Regions from separate parts of the Homo sapiens genome. Here region 2 is linked to region 1. The links are contacts of gene promoters, found by promoter capture Hi-C in blood cells and fetal thymus (Javierre and others, 2016). All regions are on one chromosome and are shown on one strand. The core of a region is centred on a gene start or on the middle of the fragment in contact, and the rest is flanking DNA. Distances in the headings are between cores, read along the strand shown. Region 1 holds the start of UCN (urocortin). Region 2 overlaps CAD (carbamoyl-phosphate synthetase 2, aspartate transcarbamylase, and dihydroorotase).

What was found. Contacts are between HindIII fragments. The CHiCAGO score rates a contact against its expected background, and 5 or more counts as called.
Region 2: a contact is called between a fragment that was not itself captured here and the fragment with the promoter of UCN in region 1, in 3 of 17 cell types (M2 macrophages, M0 macrophages and M1 macrophages). The highest score is 7.3, in M2 macrophages.

What each region holds. Positions count from the first base shown.
Region 1 is chr2:27,306,468-27,311,188 of GRCh38, forward strand. It overlaps UCN (urocortin), which reads right to left and starts at 1,978. Exons shown (of 2, transcript NM_003353.4): 1 at 1,693-1,978; 2 at 933-1,441. The coding sequence starts at 1,428. The coding sequence ends at 1,054. TRIM54 (tripartite motif containing 54) reads left to right here. Exons shown (of 9, transcript NM_187841.3): 8 at 1-75; 9 at 420-968. The coding sequence ends at 74. MPV17 (mitochondrial inner membrane protein MPV17) reads right to left here. Exons shown (of 8, transcript NM_002437.5): 8 at 3,025-3,514. The coding sequence ends at 3,445. The HindIII fragment of the contact is 26,108 bases long and covers 1-4,721 here.
Region 2 is chr2:27,233,195-27,237,915 of GRCh38, forward strand. It overlaps CAD (carbamoyl-phosphate synthetase 2, aspartate transcarbamylase, and dihydroorotase), which reads left to right. Exons shown (of 44, transcript NM_004341.5): 20 at 118-342; 21 at 432-614; 22 at 814-1,032; 23 at 1,324-1,491; 24 at 2,051-2,233; 25 at 2,342-2,446; 26 at 3,090-3,329; 27 at 3,555-3,636; 28 at 4,185-4,351; 29 at 4,524-4,688. Among named protein-coding and RNA genes, the nearest start is that of CAD, 18 kb to the left of the region's middle. The HindIII fragment of the contact is 1,738 bases long and covers 1,687-3,424 here.

The DNA of each region.
Region 1 (4,721 bases), core at 728-3,227:
AGGAAGAGGAGGTGGCCCCAGACGGAGAGGAGGGCAGCGCGGGGCCGGAGGAAGAGCGGCCGGATGGGCCTTAAGGTGAGAGCCGCCCGATGGGCCTTAAGGTGAGAGCGGCCTGAGGGGCTTGGGGTGGGGCCTGGCTGGTGTGCTCGCGTCCCCTCCCCCAGTGATTGCCCTCCCTGCGGGTAGCGTGGAGCCCCCACTCCTCGGTGCAACCCAACCCCGGAGCCACAAAGGCGCGCCCCCTAGGGCGGAAAAGTACACTTTCCTCCTCACCCGCTGTTCCTCTGGGGTGCTGGGAGGGCAGGCAAGGCAGGCTGAGTAGAGGAGAAACCCACGTGGCGGGGGACGGAGTGAGCGGGGCTCGAGCTGCCTCGTGCCTTCGCAGCACCCGCCCACCGAGCCTTCTTTCCCGGGCACAGGCCTGCGCCGACCCGACCCTGCTCGAGAGCCCGCGCTAGAGTCGGGGAGGATCTGCGCAGAGACCGCAGCATCACCCAAATCGGCGCCGGCCCCGGGAGGATCTCAATAAAGAACTCGAGCGTCCCAGACCCGTATCTCCTTTCGCTGCCCAACCCCGCAGCCTGGGCTTCGAAGGCGACCCGCCCACCATCCTGCCCTTCCCAGAACCTGAGACCGTCTGGGGGGCGGAAGCCAAATGAACCCCTATTGGGCACCTCTGTGATGCCAGGAGCGAACTGGTGAGCCCAGCGCCCTGGGAAGAGGGCCGAGGGCGGGGCGGTGGTGCCGGGACCTCTGAGGTCCTGGGGATTTGGGGACCCTTGGGGTCCACATGCACCTGGCTGACCTGGCTGAAAGCCGCTGTCTCGGAGCCCCCCACAGCATTTTGTTCCCCTCCCGCTGGCCCGGGGGCCCCACCTTCCCACGGGTTCCCACGCTGCTGTGACTGCCCTGCCTCTACGACAAAAGCCAACGGGTCTTCAGTACTTTTATTAAAAAATAGTCACGCAGACAGTGCCCTGGTGGCTCTGCCCCGCATCCCAACTCTGGGGTGGGGGAAAGGGGTCAACGTTTTCGCAGCCCCAAACCGGGCCATCACTTGCCCACCGAGTCGAATATGATGCGGTTCTGCTCGGCGCGCTCCCGCTGGCTCTGCGTCCGCGCCAGCTCCAGCAGGGTCCGCAGCAGGTGAAAGGTGAGGTCAATGGACAGAGAAGGGTTGTCCCGCCGCGGCCGCTCGCCTGCCGTCCCGAGTCCCAATCGGCCGGGCCCCGCGCGGCGCGGGAAGCGCTCCGCCAGCAGCAAGAGGAGCGCGCGGGCCCCGCCACCCTGGTTCCGTGCCCCGGGGCTCCAGCGCAGACTCGGGTCCTGGACCCCGGCCGCCTCGGGGCTCCTCTGGCTGCTCCCAGGGCACAGCTGTACCAGGAGCAGCAGCGCGGCCAGCAGCGCTGCGCGTCCCGCCTGCCTCATGGTGCCGCCGGCCCTGGACACACAGGGGCAGCGCAGGGTGAGGTGCGCCTGGGACAGCTGCAGGCCGCCGCTCCCCTCCCCGCGCTCGCCCGGCGACCCCTCCGGCCGCCGCCCAATGCCCGCAGCCTGCCCTCCAGCCCCAGCCACTGCGCCAGTGCTGTTCCATCCCTTCCACCCAGCCTCCCTCCCCGGAGGAGCGTGGTGGCTGAGCTGAGCGGAGTCCTGGTGCAGGGGGAGGCTGGGCGGACGCTCTGAGCCACTCACAGGTTGTCGGCGAGCGTCTGTACGGTCCAAGATTGAGCTCCAGTCTCTGTCCCTCGGGGCAGGCTGAAGACGCCTTGGGGAACACAGGGTCTGTCCCGGGGCTGTCGCCAGCCTTATATAGTGCCAGGACAGCTCCGACTGACGTCAGCGAAGAACATGCACTGATTGTAGAAGCAATGACAGCCACAGCTTCGAGTCTGACGGCTGGCGGGCCCCCGGAGGGGCGCACCTCCCTACACCAGCCTTCGTGCCCCTGGGGCTAGCGCTGGAAGCAGCACTGGACGCAGGAAAGCGAGAAGCCGGCTGGGGCGTAAAGACTGCTCTGGGACCCACGGGAGTCCCTCGCCCCGCTTAGAACAGCCAGCAATGACTAGGGCCGTCCCCAGACCAGACTAGTCCGGGTCGCGTGTTCTGACACACGAAAGGGAGGCGGGACCGTGAGGCTGTCCATGGTGCTGACCCCGTCCTCTGCCTCTAGAAGTGGCCAGAAATGTGAGAACGCTGTGCCGCTGGAACCCACTGCCTCCCTGCAGCTATCAGTTCTGCAAATGCAGGCATCAGGAGTCCACCGCTGGCACTCAGCCAACACAGTGGGACCCACTGAGAGGCAGTCTGCCACAACCAAAGTCTCCCAGCATTCTTATCTTTTTCCAGCCCCAGGATCCAAATTGTAGGGCTGTCTGACAGGCACCATGTAACAGAGGGTCTCTAGCATCCGAGTGCTTTCAGACCACAAATGGCTGGCCCATCTGCTTTTGAGTTTGCCAAAGTAGTTTAGCAAAGTTCAGTTTCTCTCCTGGGAATCATAGCAGCAGTGTAACTCTGCCCATGAGCAGCAAAGAAATATGGGTTCAAGTTTCTGCTAACTCCTGGTGTGGACAGGTCACCTCCCTCCTACCAACCTCAGGGTCCTCATTTGTAAGACTGGGCTTGGCCAGGCGCGGTGGCTCACGCCTGTAATCCCAACACTTTGGGAGGCCGAGGCAGGCGGATCACGAGGTCAGTAGTTTGAAACCAGCCTGGCCAATATGGCGAAACCCCATCTCTACTAAAAATACAAAAATTAGCCGGGCGTGGCGGTATGCGCCTGTGGTCCCAGCTACTCAGGAGGCTGAGGCAGGAGAACTGCTTGAACCCAGGAGGCGGAAGCTGCAGTGAGGCAAGATCGCGCCACTGCACTCCAGCCTGGGAGACAGAGCAAGACCCTGTCTCAAAAAAAAAAAAAAAAAAAAAAAAAAAAATTGGGCTTGGTGGTCTCTTGGCTTCTTTCCAGCTCTAGAAATGACTCCCCAATAGTTTTCTGCTTAAAAACTTACTCATTACCACTGCAGATTCCGGATTACATATTTAATAACATATTTACTGAGGCACCATATAAAGGGTTCCGGGAGTCTCTAAAGAGCTGGAGCTACAAGAAGCCTAGGCAGGGTTAGAGTAACAAATGTGTCTATGAAGAGTGGGGATGAGTGGCATTTGCTGGGATATGGGTGTAAAGTTGATAAGGTCATGAAGGTTCAACAGATATTTATGGAGTGCCTAGTATGTGGTGGGAATAAGACTATTATCAAGGGCTCTAAAGCAGTCAGTGTACATTTTAGAGTGAAGAGGGGCATTGCAGGGTGCTAGTCCTCTTAAGCTCTGACCGGCAACCCAACCCCGTGGAAACTGGTATGCCCACTTTGAGGAGGTTGTCTGACCGTTCCAGGGTCAAGCTGCATCACTGCAAGGTGGAAACGATGGAGTGAGGCAGGCTTAGAGCCGATGTGCCTTCCAGGACAGGTAGGAGTTCCAGATAACAGCAACACATTGGACAACGGCCAACCTAAGGAACAGGAATAACACAATGAAGAGGAGGAAGGCTAAGCAGTGAGCAAGGGCTGGAGATGGGAGCATGAAATGGCAAAGGAGGGATCATGACAAAGGATTGGCAGGTTTAGGTCTCTTTCCTTCAGCACCTTTTTTTTGAGATGGAGTCTCCTCTGTTGCCCAGGCTGGAGTGCAGTAGCACAATCTTGGCTCACTGCCTCCCGGGTTCAATCAATTCTCGTGCCTCAGCCTCCCAAGTAGCTGGGACTACAGGTGTGCTCCACCACACCTGGCTAATTTTTGTATTTTTAGGAGAGACAGGGTTTCACCATGTTGGCCAGGCTGGTCTCGAACTCCTGACCTCAAGTGAGCCACCCACCTCGGCCTCCCAAAGTGCTGGGATTACAGGTGTGAGCCACGACACCCAGCCCTTTCAGCACCCTATGAAGGGCCTGTGTGGCTTGCACTAAAGGACAACTGGCTCAAATTCTAGTGCCATCCCAGAGCTCTGTTTCCTGGCTGAGAGCCTCAAAGGCTAAATATTCAGCGGCTCTCTTGCCATGCATAGCTCTGTTAATCACAGAAAGGGCCCCTATCTGGGCCCCTTCTAAGTTCATTGATCTGTCTTGTACCAGCTGAGATTTCATCTTCCGAAATGTACGGACTATCATATAAAGTAGCATCTTTCTGTTTTAAATTAACCTTGCTCTGGTTTCAAAGAGTGTTGCAAAGGACCCTAATGTTTAGGATTTGGTTCATAAGTCTGTATTCCTTTTTTGTTTTTTCGGGTTTTTTTTGAGACGGAGTCTCGCTCTGTTGCCCAGGCTGGAGTGCGGTGGCAAGATCTTGGCTCACTGCAACCTCCGCCTCCCAGGTTCAAGCGATTCTCCTCCCTCAGCCTCCCGAGTAGCTGGGACTACAGGCACCTGCCACCACACCCAGCTAATTTTTGTATTTTTAGTAGAGACAGGGTTTCAACATATTGGCCAGGCTGGTCTCGAATTCCTGACCTTGTGATCCACCTGCCTCAGCCTCCCAAAGTGTTGGGATTACAGGCGTGAGCCACTGTGTCCAGCCTTTTTTTTTTTTTTTTTTTTTTTTTTTTTTGGAGACAGGGTCGTCTCACTCTGTCACCAGGCTGAAATGCAGTGGCACAATCTCAGTTCACAGCAACCTCCATCTCACAGGCTCAAGTGATCCTCCCACCTCAGCCTCCCGAGTAG
Region 2 (4,721 bases), core at 1,306-3,805, 73 kb before region 1:
GCTGGCTGACCTAAGATTCTTTGAAACTTGGTGGCGGCTGAGGGAAGCAGTGAGCAGGAAGGCTCAGATTCCTGCCCTCTTTTGCTGCCACCACTTGTTTCTCCCCCTGCAACGTAGGTGGTGATGGACATCTATGAGCTCGAGAACCCTGAAGGTGTGATCCTATCCATGGGTGGACAGCTGCCCAACAACATGGCCATGGCGTTGCATCGGCAGCAGTGCCGGGTGCTGGGCACCTCCCCTGAAGCCATTGACTCGGCTGAGAACCGTTTCAAGTTTTCCCGGCTCCTTGACACCATTGGTATCAGCCAGCCTCAGTGGAGGGAGCTCAGTGACCTCGAGGTGGGCTGGGACCTGGTGGGTTACCCGGAGGCTGGATGATGCTTGGGGGAAAGTGTGAACAACTCAGCTAAGCTCCCTGCCTCCTGTAGTCTGCTCGCCAATTCTGCCAGACCGTGGGGTACCCCTGTGTGGTGCGCCCCTCCTATGTGCTGAGCGGTGCTGCTATGAATGTGGCCTACACGGATGGAGACCTGGAGCGCTTCCTGAGCAGCGCAGCAGCCGTCTCCAAAGAGCATCCCGTGGTCATCTCCAAGTTCATCCAGGAGGCTAAGGTGGGAGGCTGCAGACAGTGAAGTCTCTGAGGGCATGCTGCCAGCCCTGGAGGAGACTTCCTTCTCTGGTCCAGCAGAATCATAGGCACCAGGGCTGGGAACAGTGGGCTATGTGGGGCTCGTTAAAGGAAGAGACAATCCTAGAGTAAGTGAGAGAAGAAAGTGGCCCTATGTCCCACTGTCTGTGTCCCCCCGCTAGGAGATTGACGTGGATGCCGTGGCCTCTGATGGTGTGGTGGCAGCCATCGCCATCTCTGAGCATGTGGAGAATGCAGGTGTGCATTCAGGTGATGCGACGCTGGTGACCCCCCCACAAGATATCACTGCCAAAACCCTGGAGCGGATCAAAGCCATTGTGCATGCTGTGGGCCAGGAGCTACAGGTCACAGGACCCTTCAATCTGCAGCTCATTGCCAAGGTAATAAGGCTAAAGGAAAGAACTAAAGGGCCACAGCTCTTGCATGTTCTGTGCTGGCCACAGTGCCATGAAGCCCTGCACTGTCTCCTGCCTTCATCCAAGTAGGCAGGGAAGCTGGAGGGAAAGGGCTGTAGCTAGAGCTCATGGTGTTGGGGCTTATGACAGTCAGTGACCCTGAACCCTGCTCAGTCTGATCCCCCAGAGCTGAGGACGGAGAGGAAGAGTCTAGGCCTATAGATAGTGTCAGCAAGGCCAACCTGCAGAAGGCCTGACCAGTCTTCTCTGCCCCAGGATGACCAGCTGAAAGTTATTGAATGCAACGTACGTGTCTCTCGCTCCTTCCCCTTCGTTTCCAAGACACTGGGTGTGGACCTAGTAGCCTTGGCCACGCGGGTCATCATGGGGGAAGAAGTGGAACCTGTGGGGCTAATGACTGGTTCTGGAGTCGTGGGAGTAAAGGTAAGGAATATCGAAACCCTTGGGGTTAGCAGAAAAATAGCGGGAGAGAGTTCACTCACCACACAGAGTTGTCAGTATGTAAACCAGGCACTGACTGCAAGGCATTGCCGGATCGTGGGGGTAATGAGGTGGTCATTGTCCCTTAAGAGCTTACTTTATGGTAATGGGAGGGAAGAGAAGTTGGATCCCCAAAAAAGCTTTGGTATAGAACAGTCCGTGGTAAAACTACATATTCGACCTGTAAACAGAATGCTGCAGGAGTTCAAGAGACAGGAGGTGCTGCTTCCAAAAGGGGTGATCTGGGAAGGCTTGAGCGAAGGGGTGCTATTTGAATTGAGTTTTGAAGGATGGTTAAGGTTTTTTATTTGCAAGGGCACATCCTAAGCAGAAGCTGAGGGATGACCCCAAGTACGTTTGGAAAGCAGGAGGGCACACAGAGAGGGCAGGCTGACCCTGCCATTCAGATGGGATCAAGCACAGGGTACTGTGTCCGTCTCTGCTGGTGAGGGAGGAGGTCCTCTCACACCTTGGCCCTCTCTCTTCCCTCCCGCCCCTTTAGGTGCCTCAGTTCTCCTTCTCCCGCTTGGCGGGTGCTGACGTGGTGTTGGGTGTGGAAATGACCAGTACTGGGGAGGTGGCCGGCTTTGGGGAGAGCCGCTGTGAGGCATACCTCAAGGCCATGCTAAGCACTGGCTTTAAGATCCCCAAGAAGAATATCCTGCTGACCATTGGCAGCTATAAGGTATCAGAATCCAGGAGGGCTTCCCGAGGGCCGTGGCTCCCTGGGCCAGGGCTGACCTTGAAATGGAAGACAGGAAGAAAACAATTTCATCCTTCTGTTTGGTTTCAGAACAAAAGCGAGCTGCTCCCAACTGTGCGGCTACTGGAGAGCCTGGGCTACAGCCTCTATGCCAGTCTCGGCACAGCTGACTTCTACACTGAGCATGGCGTCAAGGTGCAGGAACTCTGGCAACCTACCCCACTGCTGCCCTTCCCCAAGGGGGTGAAAATACTGCACCAAAGAATTATCTGGGCTGGGCACGGTGGCATATACCTGTAGTCCCAGATACTCAGGAGGCTAAGGCAGGAGAATCTCTTGAGCCCAGGAGGTAGAGGCTGCAGTGAGCTGCGAGTGTGCAGTGAGTGCACCACTGCACTCCAGCTTGGGAAACAGTGAGATGCTGTCTCAAAAAAAAAAAAAACAAAGAATTATCTCCTATTCCCCTGCTTTTATTATTACCATTATACTAGTAAGCTATATTCCATGCAGAAAGCAGAATACACAGGAAGCAAAGAGAAAAGTCTCTTAAAATCTCTGTACCACTGTTCTGATATTTTTCCTTCCAGGATTTTCTCTGTGTACATGTGTGTGAGCTCATACTGCACCTAGTCCTTGGTAACCCATCTTACTTAGTGTAGATATCTTTCCTGCCAAGAAATACACTTTGCCAGTATCAAATAGAGGCAGCCCTCAGTGCCCACCCTATGGGTCCTCAGTCTCCTCATCATGGGCTCCTGGGCCAGCTCCTCTCCCTTAAGGCTAGCCTTCCTGACCGCTGCCAGACAGCTTGGCCCTGACCTTGACTCCGGGTTGGCAGGTAACAGCTGTGGACTGGCACTTTGAGGAGGCTGTGGATGGTGAGTGCCCACCACAGCGGAGCATCCTGGAGCAGCTAGCTGAGAAAAACTTTGAGCTGGTGATTAACCTGTCAATGCGTGGAGCTGGGGGCCGGCGTCTCTCTTCCTTTGTCACCAAGGGCTACCGCACCCGACGCTTGGCCGCTGACTTCTCCGTGCCCCTAATCATCGATATCAAGTGCACCAAACTCTTTGTGGAGGTAACTGAGACCCATGTGCTGGGAGGGAGACTGCCAGTGTTGATGGGAAGAAGAAAGAGGGAGGAGTGAGTATGGAACAGCCATGCTAGTAATAAAGCTTTGTGGCTACAGAGGGAGAGATGGTGGGTATAGAGTGTGCAGAGCCTGGTTTATGGGAAAACCACATCTCTCCCTACAACTCCCAGGATCACCCTTCCCTTAAAGCTGACTGCTTTCCACTTGCAGGCCCTAGGCCAGATCGGGCCAGCCCCTCCTTTGAAGGTGCATGTTGACTGTATGACCTCCCAAAAGCTTGTGCGACTGCCGGGTAAGTCTTTGGGGAGAACTTGGCTTCTGAACACTGGCAGCCCCTGGCATAGAGACCTGCAGTGTGGTGAAGGATGGCTGGGGGGCCCACTCTTTGTCCTGGACTGCACAGACTGTGAAGACCCCAGAATGTTTCTCACTCTTTCATTCCTTAATCCACAGTGTCCACAGTGGCCTTGTCTGAGGAATTTTTTTTTTTTTTTTTTTTTTGAGACAGAGTCTTACTCCATCGCCCAGGTTGGAGTGCAGTGGTGTGTGATATCGGCTCACTGCAACCTCCGCCTCCCAGGTTCAAGCGATTTTCCTGCCTCAGCCTCCCAAGTAGCTGGGATTACAGGTGTGTGCTACCACACCAGGCTAATTTTTGTGTTTTTAGTAGAGACGGGGTTTCACCATGTTGGTCAGGTTGGTCTCGAACTCCTGATCTCAGGTGATCTGCCCACCTCGGCCTCCCAAAGTGCTAGGATTACAGGCGTGAGCCACCATGTCCAGCTCACCCTTCCTATTTCTGAATCTTCCTGTAATCTTGCTGCTTCCATTTTCTCCCAGGATTGATTGATGTCCATGTGCACCTGCGGGAACCAGGTGGGACACATAAGGAGGACTTTGCTTCAGGCACAGCCGCTGCCCTGGCTGGGGGTATCACCATGGTGTGTGCCATGCCTAATACCCGGCCCCCCATCATTGACGCCCCTGCTCTGGCCCTGGCCCAGAAGGTGAGCCACTGCACTCTTCCTGGTATTGGAGACCCATATGCCCCTACCAGCCACCCTTGCTTCCCTGAGCCCTTTTCCTTCTGCCCCGCCCTATGGGCCCAGGCCACTGGTGCCAGGCTAGCCTGTGTGGGCATGGGTGCCAGTGAGCCTTACCTCTGTGTATCCTCTCCAGCTGGCAGAGGCTGGCGCCCGGTGCGACTTTGCGCTATTCCTTGGGGCCTCGTCTGAAAATGCAGGAACCTTGGGCACCGTGGCCGGGTCTGCAGCCGGGCTGAAGCTTTACCTCAATGAGACCTTCTCTGAGCTGCGGCTGGACAGCGTGGTCCAGTGGATGGAGGTAGGGAGTGTGCATGTGGCAGGAGGCCACCAC